Regions from separate parts of the Homo sapiens genome. Here region 2 is linked to region 1. The links are contacts of gene promoters, found by promoter capture Hi-C in blood cells and fetal thymus (Javierre and others, 2016). All regions are on one chromosome and are shown on one strand. Each heading gives the region's core, a stretch centred on a gene start or on the middle of the fragment in contact. The rest is flanking DNA. Distances are from core to core; before and after follow the strand shown.

Region 1 (6,518 bases), core at 1,841-4,340:
ATAATAAAAAAAGTCAAGCTACAGTAGCAGTAGCTTTTTTATTGCCCCAACTTACTAAAACTTGGTAAAGTTTTTATCTTTAGATGAAAATACGCTTATTCTAGTTAATTAAAAGGTTCCAGAAAACCAGTCTCTTTTGGAAACAGATTTTTCTCAAGTGACAGGTTGATCCTATTACAAGTAGGTATGCAAAAAGGAGCCCTCCTTTTGAAAGGGAAACACAGAACAGCTCCTGCCACAAATCAGCTACTTCAAAACTTAGGATATGTGCCTATCTTAAATGCTGCCTTCACAAATCTCAAAAGGCAAGACATGTTTACCGCTACTAGATACAACCATATAGCTCTTTATAATTTCACCTACGGCACCTTTCTATTTTTCAAATATCTGCCACCTTGATGCACATGTTATGACTCAAGTCTACTTTTTTCCTAATTTCATGAAATTAAAAGTCACTATGATCTAAATATTTTTAATGTTGTATAATGATAGAAGAATCAAACAAAGCTGATTGTTTATACTAGGAATGGAAAAAGAAGAGTTAGCATTTAAAAAGATACATTACTTGTAAATTTCTCAAATAGCTGAAGCAAAAGGAATGCTCAAAAATGAATCAAAGTGCCCAACACAACCGCAAAATAGGTTTTGGCATGCACAGCCAACTGAGTAAGCTAGTCAGGTTTCTTGGTACATAAAGTTAGGACTAATATAGAAAACATGCCCTACCTCTCTTCTCTCTGGTGCGGTTTTCTAAGTAACAAGACAAGCACTACCAACATGGTTCTGTTAATGACCGTAGAGCTATCCTCACTACTAGCCTGTTTCTAAATTTTACCAAAAAATTTTATGTTAATGTCTCCAAAAGATCTTTAATGAAGTAAAGTCAGGCTAAGAACCACATAACAAAATGTTAAATAACTAAAAAGTTATTTCAGAATTTAAAGGAACTATGTGACAACTCTGAGTAGTTAGTATTTTCAGTAAGTATTTCAAAAGATTCCCAAACATGTTAAATACAATATGGCTACAGCAAAGATTAGGCAAATCCGAACCAAGTGCAGAAACTAAACCGCCAGCTCTGGATTTAAAAGCTGTCTGCTCCACTTGAGGCGGTTAGATACACTGACACAAGAGGCCAGTATCTCAGCAGCAAGTTAGGCCTCTTCCTCCCTCTGGGAAGCGCATGACAAACAGGGCATCATGCAACTTAAGTCACCCGGTCACTTAGCAAAAATTCTATGTAACTTCTAAACTTGGGACCAGATGGCCTTCTATACGCAAAAGAAATGTAGAGAGCAGTGAAGTACTGGGAGAGAGGAAGACTTAAAATGCTCCACTTTGTGATCCTGTAAACATTTAGCCCATCATTAGATCTGAGTCTTAGATTCTAAGACATGCTTTAATGGAGGCCTCCCTCAACCTCCTGAGTCTGTTTTCCAACAGTGAAGGAACTTTTCCTGCCTTATCTCAGTTCCCTGAGAGCATGCGGCACTGCAATTCAATATCCTAAACTGGCAAGGAACGGTGGCGGAAGAAAAGGAGAAATCCAAACCAAAACAGCCTATAAAAGACAAAACATAAAATAAAATCATAATTCATCCTCCGCCCATAGCAAACCCAACCCAGAAATTTACAGCGTGTTAAGAAAAGCAGCATTGCGAACTGCAAACGTAAGAGTTTTCCTTTGACACTCTACGCACGGTTTTCAGCTGTCAAATTACAACTCAGGAAAACACTATCATTAGAATAGAAAAGGAAACAAAAAAGCTCGCACCACAGGGGCTAGTAGCAGGAGCTGCCAGCACCATTTCAGGAGGAGAGTAAAGGGAATCCAATGCACTTCCCCACCCCCGCTTGAATCCATCCCCTCCCGGGGCAGGCAAACCTCACTGCAGGGGCTCAAATTTAATAATAATAACAATAATCATGGCGCTTCCTCCCTCACTCCCTCCCCCAACTATCACCTTCCCCCCACCCCCCGCCCGCTCCCAGCAATCTGCCGGGAATCGGCTTCTCTCCCCAACCCGACCCCGGGATCCCCAGGTCCAGACCACCCCACCGGACACAGCTGCCGGGGGCCCGGGACAAGCCCAGCCCAGCCCACCCCGGGGCCCCTGGCCCCGCTTCTCCTCTTCCCTCTCTTTTTACCTCCACCATCCCCCATCCGCATTGTCTGTCTCAATTCAACTTTGACTAATATGGATTCCTCGGGCCTTGGCCGGGCAGTAATTACCGCCTGCCCCCCGGGAGCCAGAAACCACCCCCCCATCTCCGCCGAGTTCAACGCCGCTCCTTGCGGGAGGGGGAAGGGGGTTTACAGAGCGCTCTCCAGTCTACACCGCGAGTCCCGTCTACACCGCGCTCCCCCCGCGGCCCCCTGCCCCCGGGATGAGAAGTTTGCCCCGGAAGGAGCCTAGCAGGAGGCAGTAAGGACCCCCGCACCCCACCCCAGCTGGCCGGCCGGCGCGTAAACACCCGCACCCGCCCGGCACGGCCCGTGGGGGAGGGGAGGGAGGGAAGGGCGCCCCTCCCCCCGCGCCCGCCGACCCGCCAGCCCTATTACCTGTCATTGAGCTGGTCCTCGGTGCCCGGCAGCGGGTGAACCACGAAATGGATGGACGTCATGGTGCTTTCCTTCTCGTCCTCCACTCGAGGGCGGCCCCCTCCCGCTCTCGCCCGCCCCCCAGCCCTCTACCCCTCCCCAAAACCCACAGCCGCCGCCGCCTCCCAGTCCCCAAATGGAGGGAAGCAAATACGCAGGGGCCGCCGCCGCCTCCCTGCCGGGCGTGTGTCCGCGGCCCGGAGGGGCGGGCAGGAGGGCGAATCCACACGCCACCCGCTCCCCCGGCGACAGCGCGGAGTGCGAGGCAGGCGGCCGGGACCAGGGGCGCGCCGCCGGCCAGCGGCAGACGGGCGTTGGGAGAGGGGCGGCCGGGGGAGGAGAGGGGCGGCTGCTGGCTGCGGGCTACGGGGACGGTCTGGTCCCGGCGGCGGACGGGGTCCGGACTAGGGGAGGTGAGGAAGGAGGGGAAGGAGATGAGCCCGCACCGCGCGTCACTAGCGAGAAGCTGCCGCCGCCATCTTCACTTCTGCCCCAGTTTCTCCGTCTCGCAGGCTCCGCTCCGGAGCGGCGGGGGAGGGGCAAACGGGAGGAGGAGGAGGGAGGAGACCGGCGGGCGGGGGCGCGGCGGCGAGAGGCGGGGCTCCGGGAAACGGGCGGCAAGGCCCCCTCGATTGGGCTGCTCAACGTTGTCGGGCCACGACGCTGTAAGGCGCGTGCCGATTGGTCCGTTCGGCTCCCGAGCCCAGCCCCGCCGGGGGTGGGATGTCTCCAGAGTGAGTGTTCCGGAGAGCACGTGTTAGGGAAGGAGGAGGCTGCGGGCTAACCTGCCGGGAGGGAGGGTAAGTGTGTGTCCCAGAGGAGGCGAGGAGGAAGAGGGGCTCTTGTGTTCTTTCGCTCGGATTCCCCTGGGGCAGCCCTAATTATTTGGCGGATCCTTAGGGGTTTCTTGTTGCTTCTCATCCTTCATCCGCAGTTGTATTTATGGTGAAGTTGGTAAAATCAGTTAAGGGGCAAGACATATACAGCCTTTTATTGGAAAAGTAAGGAAATTATGTAAGGGCCTTTCCAGAAGGAGATAGTAGGATCCTGGAGTTGGCTTTGCAGCAACTTCTATTACCTCGGTCTCCCCAGTTTCCTCACCACCATCACATGCCCAAAGACAAAATGTGGAAATTTCCACTAATTTCCTGATATAAATGATTCGTGATTTTTTATTACTTTTAAATGAAAGATGATAAACCTGTTCTACAAAGGAGTTCAATTTATGATCAGTGGAATCAGAACGGAAAATTATTATTTTTTTTTTTTTTTTCCCCGAGACGGAGTTTCGCTCTTGTTGCCCAGGCTGGAGTGCAATGGCGCGGTCTCGGCTCACCTCAACCTCCGCCTCCCGGGTTCAAGCGATTTTCCTGTCTCAGTCTATGGAGTAGCTGGGATTACAGGCATGTGTCACCACGTCCGGCTAATTTTGTATTTCTTTTTTAGTAGAGATGTGGTTTCACCATGTTGGCCAGGCTGGTCTCGAACTCCTGACCTCAGGTGATCCACCCGCCTCGGCCTCCCAAAGTGCTGGGATTACAGGCCTGAGCCACCACGCCTGGCCGAGATAGGATCTTTTATACCGAGTTTCTACTATAAGACACTTTCAGAGTTTTGGCCACGGCGCACAGTGGCTCACGCCTGTAATCCCAGCACTTTGGAAGGCCGAGGATGTCGGATCACCTGAGGTTGGGAGTTCGAGACCAGCCTAGCCAACTTGGTGAAACCCCATCTCTACTAAAAATGCAAAAATTAGCCAGGCATGGCTGTGCGCGCCTGTAAACCCCACTACTCAGGAAGCTGAGGCAGAAGACTTGCTTGAACCTGGCAAGTTGCAGTGAGCTGAGATCATGCCACTGCACTCCAGCCCGGGCAACAGAACGAGACTCCATCTCAAAAAAAAATTTTTTTTAATCAAATAAGTCTGTTTTTTTTTCCCTAAGGAACCAATTCATGACTTTCTTCTCAAAGGTTTCTATGACCTCCTTTAAAAAATAAAGTACCTCTTCGAAGGCAAAAACTGAGAACATGACATTCCTTCTACAGAGGTGGTCTGTTAATGAATTACACACACACACACACAGTTTTGCTTAGGAAGTTCTTCTGAGCAAAATTTATGAAAAAATACTTACAAATCAGGACAGACCTGGTACCCTCAAGGCAGATAATGGAACACTTTTGTAGGTTACCAGCTCAACCATTGGCCCAGATTAGTTTAGACTAAAAAGTGATTTCAAGGTCACTATTAGATGTCCCTGGGAGCCCTGAGGAAGGAAGGTAGACCAGTAGACACTGCTAGATTTCAAGCCAAACAGATCTAAAAAAAATTTTTTTTTTTTGAGACGGAGTCTTTGCTCTGTCGCCCAGGCTGGAGTGCAATGGCACGATCTTGGCTCACTGCCACCTCCGCCTCCTGGGTTCAAGTGATTCTCCTGCCTCAGCCTCCCGAGTAGCTGGGATTACAGGCGCTGCCACCATGCCTGGGTAATTTTTGTATTTTTAGTAGAGACAAGGTTTCACCATGTTGGCCAGGTTGGTCTCGAACTCCTGACCTCAGGTGATCCACCCACCTCGGCCTCCCAAAGTGTTGGGATTACAGGCGTGAGCCACTGCGCCCAGCCCAGATCTAAATTTCAGTTGTTTCTGCTACTTAACTACGTGGCCTTACTTGGATTTAGATTAGTTAGATTTGGCCGGGTGCACTGGCTCACGCCCATAATCCCAGCACTTTGGGAGGCCGAGGTGGGTGGATCACCTGAGGTCAGGAGTTTGAGACCAGCCTGGCCAACATGGTGAAACCCTGTCTCTACTAAAAATACAAAAATTAGCCAGGAGTGTTGGTGTGGCTGTAGTCCCAGCTACTCCAGAGGCTGAGGCAGGAGAATTGCTTGCTCGAACCCGGGAGGTGGAGGTTGCAGTGAGCCAAGATTGTGCCACTGCACTCCAGCCTGGGCGACAGAATGAGAATCTGTCTTAAAAAAAAATTAGTTAGATTTAACCTATCATTGCATCTTTTTTCCTCATTTGTTAAATATTCCATACTAATAGATCTATCTACACAGAGTTGCAGTGAGATCTAAATAAGATAATGTATGTCAGACACCTAGGACAGTTCATATACATAGTAGGCTCAGCAAATGGAAACATTTACTTGTCTGGTGCTATGTTCCAGTTTTTTTTTTTGTTTTTGTTTTTGTTTTTGTTTTTTTGAGGCAGGATTTCACTCCCATCACCCAGGCTGGAGTGCAGTGACATGGCCTCGGCTCACTGCAACCTCCACCTAGCAGGCTCAAGCAATTCTCCTGCACTGGCCTCCCGAGTAGCTGGGTCTACAGGCACAGGCTACCACGCCTGGCTAATTTTTGTATTTTTTGTAAAGGCGGGGTTTTGCCATGTTGCTCAGGCTGGTCTTGATCTCCTGGGCTCAAGCGATCGACCCACCTCGGCCTCCCATCTATGTTCAACTTTTACACCTTATACCTTTTAATACTTGAATCACACTATAGGGTAAATTATAATATCCCTGTTATCTAGATGAGGACACTGGGGCTCAAACACCTGAGGTAAGGACTGAAGCTGATACTGAAACCCCGGTCTTCTGACTTGGATTCCATTGTTCTTTCCACTATACCACTGCTGCCATCTAGAAGTTAATAATTTAGAAGGAACAGACTATTCAAAGCCAATAGAGAAAAAAATTATATGATAAATGGAAGAAGAGTAATGTGGAGGTTGAAGGAGGAAGTGATTCCAGCCAAGAGAATTAAGAAAAGTCACTCAAGCTGAGCTTTCTTTTTTTTTTTTTTTTTTTTTTGAGACGGAGTTTCAACCTTGTTGCCCAGGCTGGAGTGCAGTGGCGCAATCTTGGCTCACTGCAACCTCCGCCTCCCAGATTCAAGCAATTCTCTTGCCTCAG
Region 2 (6,518 bases), core at 1,801-4,300, 440 kb after region 1:
CCATAGATGTGAGACCTTGAGTAGGTCTGAAACACTACAAAAGAATTCCAGGAAGCTATATACTGAAACTGGTAGGAAATCCTATAAATTTAGTGATCATAAGATCAGGTAAACTTCTGCCACCCTGGACCCCAAAATAAGTGATAGACAATAACAACAGCCTACATTGAGTACTCAGGATAAATCAGGACAAGGCTTGCTTCAATAAGAAAGCCAGTAATCACAATGCATACCCCTAAACTTATTTTTCAGGTGATGAGGTTGAAAAAACTGAGTAACCTTAGAGGAAGAAGACTAAAGGTGACTGCTAAAGATTTATTTTAAAAGAGAAGAACAAGAATGAATAGGAAATATATAAGGGGGCAAAAAATCCCAAAAGTTATAAGCCCAACAGGCTAAGTTTGAAGTGCCTGTGTAAAGACTGCCCAATGAACTGCCTCACCATAAATATTAAAATGTAGCTTAATGAGAAAACAAAATACACAATTCTCACAGCAATATTATTTTTGCACGTGGAATTAACACAATTAGACTCCCTTAAAAATGTCTTGACTATTCAATGTGAAGACTAAATTTTTTTTCTGGAGAAAATGTGTGTGTACTAAAGTGTGTGTGTACCTGCACTCAAGTGAAATATTTATATCCCTTTTGGCAATTAAGATGTGATAACATTAAAGATAACTATTACAATACAACATGAAGTACACAATCATATTAATTTCAAGTTTTCTAGCTTTCCTGATTACAATTAAGCATAGGGAATAATCCTTTAAAGAGACACACTATTTTGGTTACCTTAAGGCAGAGCTCATTGCCTGCCTGTCCACTACTCACCCAAGGAAAACATATAGAATACATGTGCAATACAGTAATTGCAACCAAGACCAAGTTAAGCAGGTTATTAAGAAATCAGATGCTGGCCGGACATGGTGGCTCACGCCTGTAATCCCAGCACTTTGGGAGGCTGACGCAGGTGGATCATGAGATCAGGAGTTCCAGACCAGCCTGGCCAAGATGGTGAAACCCTGTCTCTACTAAAAATACAAAAATTAGCTGGGCGTGGTGGTGGGCACCTGTAATCCCAGCTACTTGGGAGGCTGAGGCAGGAGAATCGCTTGAACCTGGGAGGTGGAGGTTGCAGTGGGCCAAGATCACGCCACTGCCCTGGGTGACAGAGCAAGACTGTCTCAGAAAACAAAAAAAAAGAAAGAAATAAGATGTAATATCTCAGAGGCCCCTGTACCTCTCCCTTAGAATTTGTTTAGACCTTCTCTAATCATCATTCCTTTGTTACTTAATGGTTTTATTCTTCTATGTGACCCTAAAACAGTGTTGGGCAATGTGGTACTTTACATTCTAGTACTAGAGTCCTTATTCCACTGGCTGGCAGTTTAAGTAGCACTGATCTAGGGACTACAGTCTATACCTGGGACTGGAACTGCTAGATTGTTAGTGGCAAACAGTTTTCAAGTCTTTTGCTCAGTTTCTTGTTTTTGCCTTTTATTTATCTGAAGGAGCTCTTCATGAATTTAGGATAGCAAACCTCTCATTAGGAGTATTATTTTTGGGGTGATTGTTTTGTCAGAATTTCCATGTTGAACATACCAGGATAACCCCATCCTACCTTTGGTCATGCCAAATATAACATGTTCATGCTGAACCTACATGAGCTAAGAAGATACCATACTTGTTTAGGAGATCTTTGCAAACTGGGCATCAGAGGATCCTTGCAGTAAAGAGCAAGAAGCAGATAAAAAGTAATCTGAAGTCAACATAAAGCTCATACTGCCAAGCATGGTGGCTCACGCCTGTAATCCCAGCACTTTGGGAGGCTGAGGAGGGCAGATCACCTGAGGTCAGGAGTTCGAGACCAGCCTGACCAACATGGCGAAACCTTGTCTCTACTAAAAATACAAAATTAGCTGGGCATGGTGGTGTGTGCCTGTAATTCCAGCTACTTGGGAGGCTGAGGCAGGAGAATTGCTTGAACTAAGGAGGCAGAAGTTGCAGTGAGACTGAACCACTGCACTCCAGCCTGGGCAACAAAGGTGAAACTCCATCTCAAAAAAATAATAGTAAAAAAAAAATTTTTTAATACAAAAATTAGCAGGGCGTGGTGGCATGCACAACGTGGCTGGACCTCATGATGGCTGGCTATGGCCTGGGCAGGTTGAACCTGACTATCCTAATCCCCGTAACCCAGTATGCTACACAGTATTTTCTACTCATGCATAATGTAAAAAACAGTGGATTAACGAAAAGGAGAGCTAAATATCTGCTTTAGTTAACTTGTGACAAATTGCTTGATTTGACTGGGCATGGATGTCCCTGGAATGGAGGAAGGACAAAATATCTGTGCTCCCTGGGGCCTCACCAGTATGTAAGCACTTCAACTTGGAAGAGTCTCCTTAGGCTTATCTGAACAATGGCCAGTTTAGAACAGTAGCCTGCCATATACTAGATTTTAAGGTTTACAAGCCTTTTTCATAGATGCAATATCTCATTTATTCTAATGGAAGTTAAATATCGCAAAAGGGATTGGTTTACCTGGGGTGGGGTATGGGGAGACCCAAACTGGAAAACTCTGAAACAAGATCAGGTTGGGTGAAGACTGTGATGGAACACACAGATTGGTAGTCAGTATTAATTTTCTCAGCTAAACTAACCTCTGTAATAAATGCAAAAGCCATTTATCCCGTTTAAAAACTGGTCTATGGTCGGGCGCAGTGGCGCATGCCTGTAATCCTAGAACTTTGGGAGGCCAAGGAAGGCGGATCATGGGGTCAGGAGTTCGAGACAAGTCTGACCAATATGGTGAAACCCTGTCTCTACTAGAAATACAAAATTAGTCGGGCATGGTGGTGCATGCCTATAATACCAGCCACTCAGGACGCTGAGGCAGGAGAATTGATGGAACCCGGGAGGTGGAGTTTGCAGTGAGCTGAAATCGCGCCACTGCACTCTAGCCTGGGCAACAAGAGCGAAACTTCGTCTCAAAAAAGAAAGAAAAAACTGGTCTACGTTGCTTTCCAATCTTTTTGACCTTCCTAAAAAAAATGCTAAATTTGCTCAAAGCAAGAAATACCATGTCTCTAAAACCTTGTTTATCCATTAATATGCTAGTATTCACATTGTGCTTTTACAGAATATTTTTCTGCTACTTTACACAAGCACTGACACACCATTGACTCTACTTTATGTATGCCAAGGGGATATACAGACTGTGTATTTCAACGATAGTGGTTTTACTCATCTTTTTGGTCAAAGAGTATCAACCGCCATTAATGAATGTTCTGTTACATTTGCTCATATCACAGTATCCTTAAAGTACCAAATATCATCTGTGAGAAATTAAATCGGGGGGTGGGGGGAGAAAAGAAAAAAAAGTACCAAATATCAAAACTGAAATTTTCCCCTTTCTCTGCAGTCAGGGTCAACAACCTCCCTTTCCCTTGAGACAGTCTTGCACTGTCTCCTAGTCTACAGTGCGGTGGCACCATCTTGGCTCACTGCAACCTCCGCCTCCCGGGTTCAAGCAGGCCTCAGCCTCCCTAGTAGCTGGGATTACATGCGTGCACCACCATGCCCAACTAATTTATTTTTGTATTTTTAGTAGAGACAAGGTTTCACCATATTGGCCAGGCTGGTCTCAAACTCCTGACTTCAGATGATCTGCCGGCCTCAGCCTCCCAAAGTGCTGGGATTATAGGTGTGAGGCACCGCACCCAGCGGACAACCTCCCTTTCCTACTGATAACTTACAGTGAAACATGAGGAAGGAGTACTAGCAAATTCGTAAAGAACATCTTTCCAGCCAGGCGCGGTGGCTCACGCCTATAATCCCAGCATTTTGGGAGGCAAGGGGGGCGGATCACCTGAGGTCTGGAGTTCAAGACCAGCCTGGCCACATGGTGAAACCCATCTCCACAAAAATACAAAATTTAGCCGGGCATAATGGTGGGTGCCTGTAATCCCAACTACTTGGGAGGCTGAGGCGGAAGAATCAGTTGAACCAGGGAGGCGGAGGTTGCAGTGAGCCAAGATTGTGCCACTGCACTCCAGCCTGGGCGAAAGGAGGAGACTCTGTCAAAAAAAAAAAAAATATATATATATATATATATTTTTTTTCCCTAGTTAAAATAATCCTAATTAGGTAGGGAGCTCCTACTAAGGCATGTGTAAATACTAAAGATTAGGAGACAAAATGTGAATATTTAAAATGCTGATGTTCTTCTGAAGTTCCTACATGAATATATAGAGCCGACTAATGACAACCAGGTAAAAAAAAAAACTTTTTAAAGCAAACTTGTTAAGAGCCCATTTAAGCAAATCAATTAACTGAATCCCTTTTCCATACTGCACAACATTAAAGGGTATGTGATAATGAATCTGACCACATCACTGGATCCACTATGAGAAGCAAACTTAGCTTTTTAAGTTTTAAAATATTTTCCATTAGGCTAATTCATTAATTATAATTAAACCTACAACCAAAATAAATAGAAAACTAGCCCACTGGAAAACCTTTACTCCAGCATCAAGACCTAGGGGATTTCTTTTTTTTTGAGACGGAGATTTGCTGTTGTAGCCTAGGCTGAAGTGCAATGGCACGATCTCGGCTCACTGCAGCCTCCGCCTCCCAGATTCAAGTGATTCTCCTGCCTCAGCCTCCCACGAGTAGTTGGCATTACAGGCACCTGCCACGACGCTCGACTAATTTTATATTTTTTTTTAGTAGAGACAGGGTTTCACCATGTTGGCCAAGCTGGTCTTGAACTCCTGACCTCATGTAATCCGCCCGCCTTGGCCTCCCAAAGTGCTGGGATTACAGGTGTGAGCCACCTCACCTGGCCTAGGGGATTTCTCAAAAGGCTCACAAAAACTTTTTCACAATTAGGGGCCCATTAATCTTTGATATTGACCTTAAAATATTTTGTTAAGACATTTTTACAGTGTTTGCGTACTACATCATACACACATTCTAAATTATGAAAGAAAAGGATTATGTAAGCAACTTCCAAAATTTCCAGATACTTAGTTTATTCCATCAAAATTCAGGTGGTTGATTTAAAACCTAACTCTGAAGCCAATTCTGGATCTCAGACTACCTGCACGGGAATCCTAGTGGACCAGTTCAAGCAGAGTTCATATAGCTACATGCTTTGCAATGCTATGGGCCAAATAATTTCCATGAAGCTGTTTTAACTCCTTTTAATGGTTTTCAAATAATATTGTTGATCTACAGAAAATTAACCCCAGGATTTCGGTGTCCAATAGAGCAAACTCTTATTGATTTGTAAGGATAACACATTTCTGGAATGCGGAATTTTCTCTTGCCAATTTTACAAATTCTAGTCAAGAAACCTTTGGGACTAGGTATCTTTGTGAATTCAGAATTCTCCAGATTTTGAACCATAATGTAGTACACATACTTTACATATGTTATGTAATATTCTTCAGGAGAATGAGTCAGCACCCTGCAACCACAATATTTCTGAAGCAAAATTTAGGAATATTAACACTAAATGGGATAAGTAAAGACAAAAATAGCCTCAAATCAGCACAGATCCAGGTCAAGTTTTTTTTGTTTTTTTTTTTTTTTCCCAAATCAGTTAAGGTCACATCAAGGAAGCTATAAAAAAATTTTTTTAAAGACTTTTTGGATTTCAGAATTCTATGAAAAAGGGATTGTGGACCTGTAGCTTTATAGCAAAGCATCAAATACTAGACATGCAAAATGAGAAGATTACATGTGAATATTTAAAGAAGTTATATTTGTTTGACATAATATGCATTGTACCCGGGCATAATAAAGTTAAAAGCCAGTTATTCTGACTGCCAGAACCTGCAGAATAAATTATCTTTAGCTTCTATCTGCTCCCATTCCCTCCTACCCACAAAGAGGGAGACACTATAGACTTTCTGAATCCTACATTATTAATCTAAAGACTACTTTTCCCTGATTTTGCAGAATCATTCAGCTCACTGACAATAGTCTCTCAAGTTTCTAAGAGGAAACACCAGTAGAAATATTAACTATAATGCAAGGTAACTTTTCTTTAAAGCAAGAGACACGAATTAAAAGAAGGATTATCTTTTATTACGGTCTTCCTCAAAAGACGAAGCTTGTTCTTAAATTTCTGCCTTAGAATGGATTCACAACTATGATGTTAACTTTAACAGATTGCACCACCCAAAAAGGTTTTATATCTCCAAGTCAACTTGGGAGAAAAACATCAGGTATGTTGCAAATAGAACAGATGGACTAACAAAAATTAGGCAACTGACTTAGTATTGAAACAGCAATGACCCTGCTTCTCTTTAATGTGCACACAAGCCACCTGGATATAGACTCTGATTCAGGTTTGGGTGAGGCTGAGATTCTGTATTTCTGTTCTAGGTGAGGATGCTAATGCAATTCGTCCGAAGACTACACTGCATAACCAAGGACAGTAATACACTCAAAAAAAGAAATTATGCCAGTTTAACACAAAAAGAACTGTTCCAGTCCAACATTAT

What was found. The method cuts DNA at HindIII sites, captures the fragments that hold promoters and counts their contacts. A CHiCAGO score of 5 or more calls a contact.
Region 2: a contact is called between a fragment that was not itself captured here and the fragment with the promoter of UBR5 in region 1, in 1 of 17 cell types (fetal thymus). The highest score is 5.1, in fetal thymus.

The regions. Positions count from the first base shown.
Region 1 is chr8:102,409,610-102,416,127 of GRCh38, forward strand. It overlaps UBR5 (ubiquitin protein ligase E3 component n-recognin 5), which reads right to left and starts at 3,091. Exons shown (of 59, transcript NM_015902.6): 1 at 2,564-3,091. The coding sequence starts at 2,625. It overlaps LOC105375683 (a long non-coding RNA gene), which reads left to right and starts at 2,730. Exons shown (of 5, transcript NR_168428.1): 1 at 2,730-3,402. RefSeq lists enhancers at 1,313-1,372, 1,483-2,261, 2,262-3,040, 3,415-3,684, 4,246-4,355 and 2 more and silencers at 2,455-2,894, 2,955-3,034, 3,065-3,264. The HindIII fragment of the contact is 11,584 bases long and covers 1-6,518 here.
Region 2 is chr8:102,850,508-102,857,025 of GRCh38, forward strand. The region is part of intron 2 of AZIN1 (antizyme inhibitor 1); the gene reads right to left. Among named protein-coding and RNA genes, the nearest start is that of AZIN1, 10 kb to the right of the region's middle. The HindIII fragment of the contact is 6,144 bases long and covers 1-6,122 here.